2 separate regions of the Homo sapiens genome follow, and region 1 is linked to region 2. The links are contacts of gene promoters, found by promoter capture Hi-C in human tissues and cell types (Jung and others, 2019). All regions are on one chromosome and are shown on one strand. The core of a region is centred on a gene start or on the middle of the fragment in contact, and the rest is flanking DNA. Distances in the headings are between cores, read along the strand shown.

Region 1 (4,076 bases), core at 503-3,002, 300 kb before region 2:
TTGTTTTTCCAACTTCATGGTAAGACTCCCAGTGGTGGGAACAATTTTTTTTTTTTTTAGTGGTATTCTCAGCAGCTTGCACAATGCTCTACCTGGGGTAGGTTCTCAGGAAATCTGTGTTGAATAAACTTGTCATCAGGTCTTTGCTTCTCAGGACAGAAAGGGCCCCTAGAGACCATCTCATCCACCCTGTCTCATGTTGGATTCCACGCCATGACATGCCATACAGATAGTCATCCAGAGACAGGAAGTTGCCCACCTCCTGGGAAGCTCACTCCATTACCAGGCAGTTCTACTTGTTTTAAAAAGTCCTTCTGTAGACCTGAAATCTTCCTCAGGGTAACTTCTGCCTATCACACTAGTTGTGCCCTCTGGAGCTTTAGAAGAAAGGAGGAAAAAGCCTAGTTTCTCTTCACTCACTACCTTTAGATTTTCAAAGATAGTCTGTTTATTTCCCCTGTGTGCTGTTGAAATGGGTTCCAGGGTTGAGATGCTGGAGAAGCACTATTCTAATTTTGAGTAGCAGTCAGGTCAGACCTTGATTCATTATTTTTGAAGGCCTGTGTGTGCATGTCACAGTGTAAGCTGCCATCTTCCTCTGGTCCATTCAGAGGTGTAGCCCTCTTCTCTTTTTCTCCTCTCCCCTGATCCTCTGTCTTCTGGGGGAAGATGGGCCCATTCTACTGGAATGGTCTATTTTGGAGGGAGGGGTAAAAAGTTAGCAATTCTTATTTCAGTACCGCCAGATAACTCTCCTGGGCAAGCATTGTGTGAGGGCTGCTTTTCGTTTGGCTAAAGTGCCCAGGTGAAGCCATGAGATAAAGCAAAGATAAAAGAGTCTCCCATTGATAGGAGCTGCCCAGTGCCATGACATGGGCATTTCAGGCATCTCTGGACAGAGGATTTTATTCTCACTTCCTTTTCTTCTTTTCTCCCTTCCTGATCTCCTTATCCAGAACACTTCGTGTTATTCTTTCAAACTACAAGTCAGTATGGTGTAACAGCGAGAGCCAGACAGACCTAGGTTTACATCCTGGCACTGTCACTAAGAAGCTCTGAGACCCTGAGCAGGTTATTTGAGCTCTTTGAGCCATTGTTTTCCCATTTCTAAAATAACCACTTCTACATTATAGAATTAAGTGAGAAAATGCTTGTAAGGCTCCTGGTACAATCCTTAGTATGCAGAAGGCACACAAACACTAGCTTCCTGCTACCTTTTCTCTTTCCCCCAACCTTCTTTTCCTGGGGAAAATTAGCTGAATGTAGGTATAGTAGCCAAAGCTAGTCTTGGGTGTGTATTTGGGAGCAAACTATCAGTTTCCTGTGAGCTCCTGGAGAGATCAAAGATGTTAAAAGACAGTTCTCAAGTAGGAGAGGCTGAGAAGGCTGTAAATGGCAGTAAGTGGCCACTCTGGCTACTGTTGACTTCCCACACACGTTTCTGGGCTATATAATACTGCTGCCTGCTGCTGATGGTGTAACAAAGCCTGTTCCCTGGGCAGGTTAAACTTGCATGCAGCAACCCTTCAACTGAAATGCTTTCCTCATCAACCTCTTTTGATCCCTAAAATGTTGAGCTGTCTCTTTTTGGGTTTGTTTTCCCCACCCTCCATCTGCCTCTGCTGTTCCCTGCTTTCTTCCACCATTACAGTCTCAGTCAGCCACAGTCAGCATCCGAGAAAAAATTATTTCTGGGCTGATAATTTTCTAGTAGTCACACCCATACTCTATTGATAGGCCAAGAAACCTGCTGCACACAAACTTGAATTGCATAAGTGAGCCATGTTTTACAGCAGTTGATCAGAGTTAAGAACCAAGAAAATAACTGGTTAAGCCTGTAACCCACCCAATGAAAGGGGGAGGGGAAGACGGAGGAGCTGTGGGGTTGGAGGTCCCACAGGGGAGCCCATCTCTGTCTTTTAGCAGATATATCGGTGCTCCCTCTTCATTATTATTATTATTATTATTATTTTTGGTAGAGATGGAGTCTCCCTGACCAACCTGGCCAACATGGCAAAACCCCATCTCTACCAAAAATACAAAAATTAGCCGGGCGTACTGGCATGTACCTGTAGTCCCAGCTACTCAGGAGGCTGACGCAGGAGAATCGCCTGAACCTAAGAGGCAGAGGTCGCAGTGACCTGAGATCATGCCACTGCACTCCAGCCTACAAGAAAGAGACAGTCTTCCTATATTGCTCAGGTTGGTCTTAAAGTGCTGGAATTACAGGCAAGAGCCACCATGCCCAGCTGGTCAGTGCTTTCTATGTGCTCAGGGCTGGAGATACCCAGACGAGTAACTGAACACAGGTGGTAGAGCCCAGAGGAGAAAGGTGTTGAATCTGCCTGGTGGGCAGAGGCAGGAGGCTCTGCTAGACTGCGAAAGGCAGGCAGGGCTCAGGAATTACTCTCACCTCAGCCAGAAGATCCTGTGAAGTGGGACCAAAGTTTAACTGCCTTAAGACAAAGAATGGAATGCACGTTGGACATTTTTACATCAGCCCCAGCTGAATTGACCATCCTTGCCTTGGAGCTGGACGAAAGAAAATACCTCCTCTCTGGGCAACTATTTTCCCCACATTTTCTTTAAATAGAGTAACTGACAGTTCCTATCTGTGGAATGGGTCCAACAGTGGGATTACTCAAAGAGTTCGGTGTCTCATTTCTTTCCTGCTCTGGCAAGTCTTCCTGACCTCTGTGGTCACCAAGCTGGAGGCATTTTAAGCTAAGTGGGTCACACTTAGTGGGCTCTGTGCAAGGCCTCACCATCTGACTGTCAGATTCTCTTGCAGGTTGGACAAAGCTGGAGAAGCCAAGAGGACCCTACCAGCCCCAGCCCCCATCCTGCCAAGGCATTCTCCATGTGTGGAGCCGAGCGCTCACACTTGGGTGTTTATTTTCACACATAGTCACATAGTGGTCACACTAGCGTGCTTGTTTTCACACTGCTGTCCTTCTGTGGAAAGCCCTGTCTGACTTTTTAGGTTGTGGATTCCACCCTTTCCACCCAACTGAGTGTTAAATAGTTTTTGAGTGAGCATTCAGAGTGCTTGGAAGTTACTATAATTAGCAAAAAAAAAAAAAAAAAAAAAAAAAAAAAAAAAAAGTGTTTTCATCTCTCTTGGTGACTGATAGAGAAAGAGTCCTTCTGTGAATGAGATCAGCTTCAGAGCTCTCGCCAGAGAATTGGGAATTGAGCTGCCGCAGTAAACAGCTGACATAACAGAAGCGGCAATGATCCCCCATTAAATGTCTTTCAACTGATAGGGGCTCCTGGGATAATTGACTTTCCAGCAGGAATTACTGGCTCAAACAAAATCACTGGGCATTAGGGCAACCTACTGCATCCTTTGAAAGGGGGAATGTAACTCTGTCTGGTTTTGCTGACCTGACAGGCATAATTCATCTTGATTATTCATTGTGCTAGTTGCCACCAGATGACACCAGATTTCTGGTGACTGTAATTACAATGTGGGATGAGCTTTAACTTTTTTTTCTTTTTAAACAATGTTCCTCCCACTTGGCTATTGGCTCCCCTGTGCTGAAGGTGCTGTAGGAAGGGATCCAACAATGTCTGCCTTGAGAGATGATGAGTGCATGGTCAGATAGCATTTACCAAGCACTTCCATACACACATCTTTTACTAGATAAGCAGGGAAACAATTTGATGTAGTCTGTTTCATTTTAACTGACAGAGTGTCACTTCTTAGTTATACTTATGTCACTGTGTGCCAGATTGCTGCTATCGGAAAGTGGGTCTTCATCTCAGAGCCCACTGTGAATAGGGGAAGCAAAGTTGGCCCCAAAATATAACTGCATAATGCCTTCTGCTTTCAGACAAGCTTTATTAAAGGGGCAGGTGGAAGAGAGTGGAATTCAACCAAGCTTTTATTTCGTTGACATGGTTTTAGAAGAAGATTCCTGAGTAGTCCAAAGAATGTTCTCCCAAGAAACCACTGCTCCCCAGCCCCACATGTCCTTTCCTCACCACATACACACCCCAGCCAGCTGGGTGGCATGGTACGCATGCACCTGTGGTCCTGTGGGAGAAATGAATATGACAGGTTCAGTGTGTCC
Region 2 (4,299 bases), core at 1,542-4,041:
ATCTTCTTTCTTTACTCAATAGAGATGACTGTTTGCCTTACATAAGAGACAAGGTCCTTGCAAACGCTCTGTCAAGAAACATTAAGCTACGAGAGGAATGTTCAGAATTCCCTGATGTTCTAAGGAACAAGCTATCAGAATTTGCCCTGAGGGCTCCTGTTGGCTAAGACACCTTGAGACCAAGAAAGAAGCAAAACATTTTCACTCTCCTGACAGCGTATAATTATTTAGTTCAAGTCTCCTTTGATTTTGCTCTGACCCTTGAAGCGATTCAAAGTGGGAAAACTCATGCTGTGAATGACAGGAAGGACTCCTTCAAGGACTTCTCTGACACCTGCAGGAAACTTAAAAGCTGCCAATGACCAAAATAAAGGACAAGCAGGGTGAGTTAATGTGCCTGGTGACATCCTGACAGAGCAGAATATCAGGGCTCATAATTCACCAGTCAGCACAAACAAGCTTCCCTAGAACGGGTTTTGAGCAGACGTGAAACAAGAGGCATAGGAGCTCTGGAGGTAACAGTTCAGCCCCTCATGGTGGAAAAAGATCATCCCTGTGCTCTCAGCTGAAAGGCAGAAAGGTGTGGGCTTTAAGTAGGAAGACTGTCCTGTGGCTCATGCCTGTAATCATAGCACTTTGAGAGGCTGGGGCCAGAGGATTGCTTGAGACCAGGATTTCGAGACCAGCTTGGGCATCACAGCGAGACCCCTTCTCTACAAAAATTTTTTTTAAAAGGAGTCAGGCCCAGTGGCACATTCTTGTAGTCCCAGCTACTCAGGAGACTGAGGTGGGATTCAAATAATCATTTGAATCCTGGAGGTCAAGGCTGCCATGACCTCCACTGTGCTACAGCCTGGGCGACAGAGTGAGACCCTGCCTTAAAAAAGGAAGAAAGAGGGCTGGGCGCAGTGGTTCATGCCTGTAATCCCAGCACTTTGGGAGGCCGAGGCAGGTGGATCACCTGAGGTCGGGAGTTCGAGACCAGCCTGACCAACGTGGAGAAACCCCGTCTCTACTAAAAATACAAAATTAGCCGGTCGTGGTGGTGCATGCCTGTAATCCTAGCTACTCAGGAGGCTGAGGAAGGAGAATTGCTTGAACCCAGGAGGCTGAGGTTGCAGTGAGCCGAGATCGCGCCACTGCACTCCAGCCTGGGCAACAAGAGCAAAACTCTGTCTCAAAAAAAAGAGGCCAGGTGTGGTGGCTCACCCCTGTAATCCCAGCACTTTGGGAGGCTAAGGTGGGTGGATCACTTCAGGCCAGGAGTTTGAGACCAGTCTGGCCAATAAGGTGAAACCCCGTCTCTACTAAAAATACAAAAATTAGCCGGGTGTGGTGGTGCACACCTGTAATCCCAGTTTCTCGGGAGGCTGAAGCACGAGAATCACTTGAACCCAGGAGGCTGAGGCTGCAGTGAGCCGAGATCGCGCTACTGCACTCCAGCCTGGGCGACAGAGCAAGAATTGTCTCAAAAAACAAAACAAAACAAAACAAAAAAAAAGGAAAAGAAAGAAAGCAGGAAGATTGTTTCTTCCTTGATTGCTGTTCAAAAGGTCAGGCCAGGCGTGGTGGCTCACACCTGTAATCCCAGCACTTTGGAAGGCCGAGGCGGATGGATCACCTGAGGTCAGGAGTTTGAGACCAGCCTGGCCAACACGGTGAAACCCCGTCTCTACTAAAAGTATGAAAATTAGCTGGGTGTGGTGGCATACGCCTGTAGTCCCAGCTACTCAGGAGGCTGAAGCAGGAGAATTGCTTGAACTCGGGAGGCAGAGGTTGCAGTGAGCGGAAATCGTGCCAATGCACTCCAGCCTGGGCGACAAAGCGAGACTCCGTCTCAAAAAAAAAAAAAAAAGTCAGGCCAGCTCACACGTCAGTGCATCTCAACTATGTTGCCACCACACACAGTTCCATCAGACAAACGTTCCCTGTGGGTCCAGAATTTTTCACAGTCCCCCGCACCTCTCCTCTCTCCCTAACCCGGGCTCTCCTATCTGGTCAAAACCCACTCCAAACTAGACCCATGGCCAAAATGTGGAATTCTTATCAAGGCCATTTTTCAACTTGGGCTACCTTCCCGCCCTCTCCCATCTTTCTTTCCCTGACAAATCTCAGGGGCTCTCCTGTACTTTATACACTAGTTTGGCTGGTGGTGGAGCGGTGGCAGGTGTCCTGGGCTTTTCCCACATTTTTCCCCTCCACCAGAGGCTTCACCACCTCCTCATATGTTGCTGTCACCCCCTCTTCTAAAGTGACTCAAGACAGGTGTCTATCCAAGAATGAGGGAATGCGATAGCCACATTTCGCTTCTCCCTGACGCTAGGAGACTTCCGGAAGGGTCCGACCGTACCTGCTCCAGTCCCCTTCCCTAGCACAGCCCAGCCTCCGGGTGCTAGAAGACCCCACTGTCTCCAACACTTCAGCGCCCCGCCTCCTCTGCAGTTCCACCTGCTGCTAGTCGCGCCCCTCACGCGTTACGATAGGCCAGACCTCAAAGCCCGCTCTCCCATTGGGCAGATGACCCGTCCCTCCTACGCCACGTCTCCCGGCTCTAGCGAGAGGCCCGGGCGGCGGCCGTGGGCCCTAGGGAAATCTGAGAGCTGGATGGCGGGAGAGGGGCTCTACCTGGAAGGGGTTTACATCCACTGGGTCCGCGAAGGGGTTGGTGTCGAAAGCCGACATGGTGATCGGGGGCCAGCGGGCGAACTCCGCGAACGCTGCTGCCTCCGGGCACCCAGACCCAGCGGCGCTTCGTGTAGACCCTCCACTTCCGGGAGCGAGGCAGCGGTTCTGGCGCAGGCGCGATGCCCTCCCCCGAGGGCGTGGCCCTATGACGGCACCGGGGTCGCTCCGCCCCCCCCCCCCCCCCCCCCGCCCAGCCCACAATAGTGCGGTGGGTGGGCATTCGGCTTCCGTCCACATCTTCGCTCTGCTGGGGATTCAGGGGTCTTGGCTGCGCGGAGCGTCTACGGAGCCAGAGGCGTGGCCGGAGTCCTTCCCAACTGCCTATCAATCTGACACCTTCCAATTTTATGTTTCTAAAGCAAACTCTCAAAAGTGGGACAGGAAACAGCCCCTTCACTTCTCTGTAGACCAAGTTTGGGAAGAAGTCCAAACTGATCCCTGGGCAAAGGACAGGGGTGACAGGTGAGGCCAGAGGCCTTGGGAGAACTAGGAAAGCGCTTCTTCTGCAGAACGTGCTCGGGGAAAGAGAAGTGCCAGGACCATCCAGCAGTCCTCCACCCGAGCTGAGCCTGCTTCTTCTAGGGCTGCTCGCCCTCTGATGTCGTTTCATCGTTTTAGGGACGAGGGTTCCTGGGCCCATCAGCTTTGGGACCTGAGTTGGGACTTGAACCTGGACATCAAACATTTATGAAGTGACTCACGGAATTCAGCAACACAGCCTCAATCATGGGGGAGGTGGCTGCTTCACTCTCCACAGCTCCGCTTTCCCCCGCCCCCGCCCCCCACAGGGTCTCACTGTCGCCCAGGCTGGAGTGCAGTGGTGCAATCATGGCTCACTGCAGCCTCGAGCTCCTGGGCTCAAGCAATCCTCCCACCTCAGCCTCCTGAGTAGCTGGGACTACAGCTGGTCACCACCATACCCAGCTAATTTATGGATTTTTTGTAGAGATGGGGATCTCACTATATTGCCCAGGCTCGTCTCAAACACCTGGGCTGAAGTGATCCTCCCGCCTTGGCTTCCTAAAATGCTAGGATTATACTCATGAACCACTGTCTGGCCAAATCCACCTTATTTATTTGGATCTGTCTGGTATTATTCATCTCTGCTGTCACCGAATCCCAGCCACTGTCATTTTTACCCTGAACTAATACAGTGCTGTTAATTGGTCTATTGTTCTTCATGTTGTAATCAAAGATATGTTTAAAGGGGGCAAAATTATCACAGAACTTTGTTAAAATTTTTCAATTAATTTCCATAAAGGGCTGGGTGCGTGGCTTATGCCTGTAATCCCAGTACTTTGGGAGGCAGAGGTAGGAGGATCACTTGAAGCCAGGAGTTCGAGACCAGCCTAGGCAACATACCAGGACCCTGGCTCTACAAAAAAAAAAAAAAAAAAAAAAAAATATATATATATATATATATATATATATATATACATATACATATCTCACACACACACGTAATTAGCTAGGCATGGTGGCCTGTGCCTGTACTCCCAGCTACTTGGGAGGCTGAGGCAGGAGGACTGTTTGAGCTCAGGAGGTCAAAGCTGCAGTGAGCCATCTTTGCACCACTACACTCCAGCTGAGTGACAGAGTGAGACCCTGTCTCAG

Evidence for each region. The method cuts DNA at HindIII sites, captures the fragments that hold promoters and counts their contacts. A contact is called where the count stands out against the background at its distance.
Region 1: a fragment that was not itself captured here is called in contact with the fragment with the promoter of SCAMP2 in region 2 in 1 of the 25 tissues and cell types used here (aorta).

The regions. Positions count from the first base shown.
Region 1 is chr15:74,567,393-74,571,468 of GRCh38, forward strand. All of the region lies in intron 2 of ARID3B (AT-rich interaction domain 3B), which reads left to right. Among named protein-coding and RNA genes, the nearest start is that of ARID3B, 28 kb to the left of the region's middle. The HindIII fragment of the contact is 4,220 bases long and covers 1-3,862 here.
Region 2 is chr15:74,870,574-74,874,872 of GRCh38, forward strand. It overlaps SCAMP2 (secretory carrier membrane protein 2), which reads right to left and starts at 2,792. Exons shown (of 9, transcript NM_005697.5): 1 at 2,626-2,792. The coding sequence starts at 2,682. RefSeq lists an enhancer at 1-975. The HindIII fragment of the contact is 15,220 bases long and covers 1-4,299 here.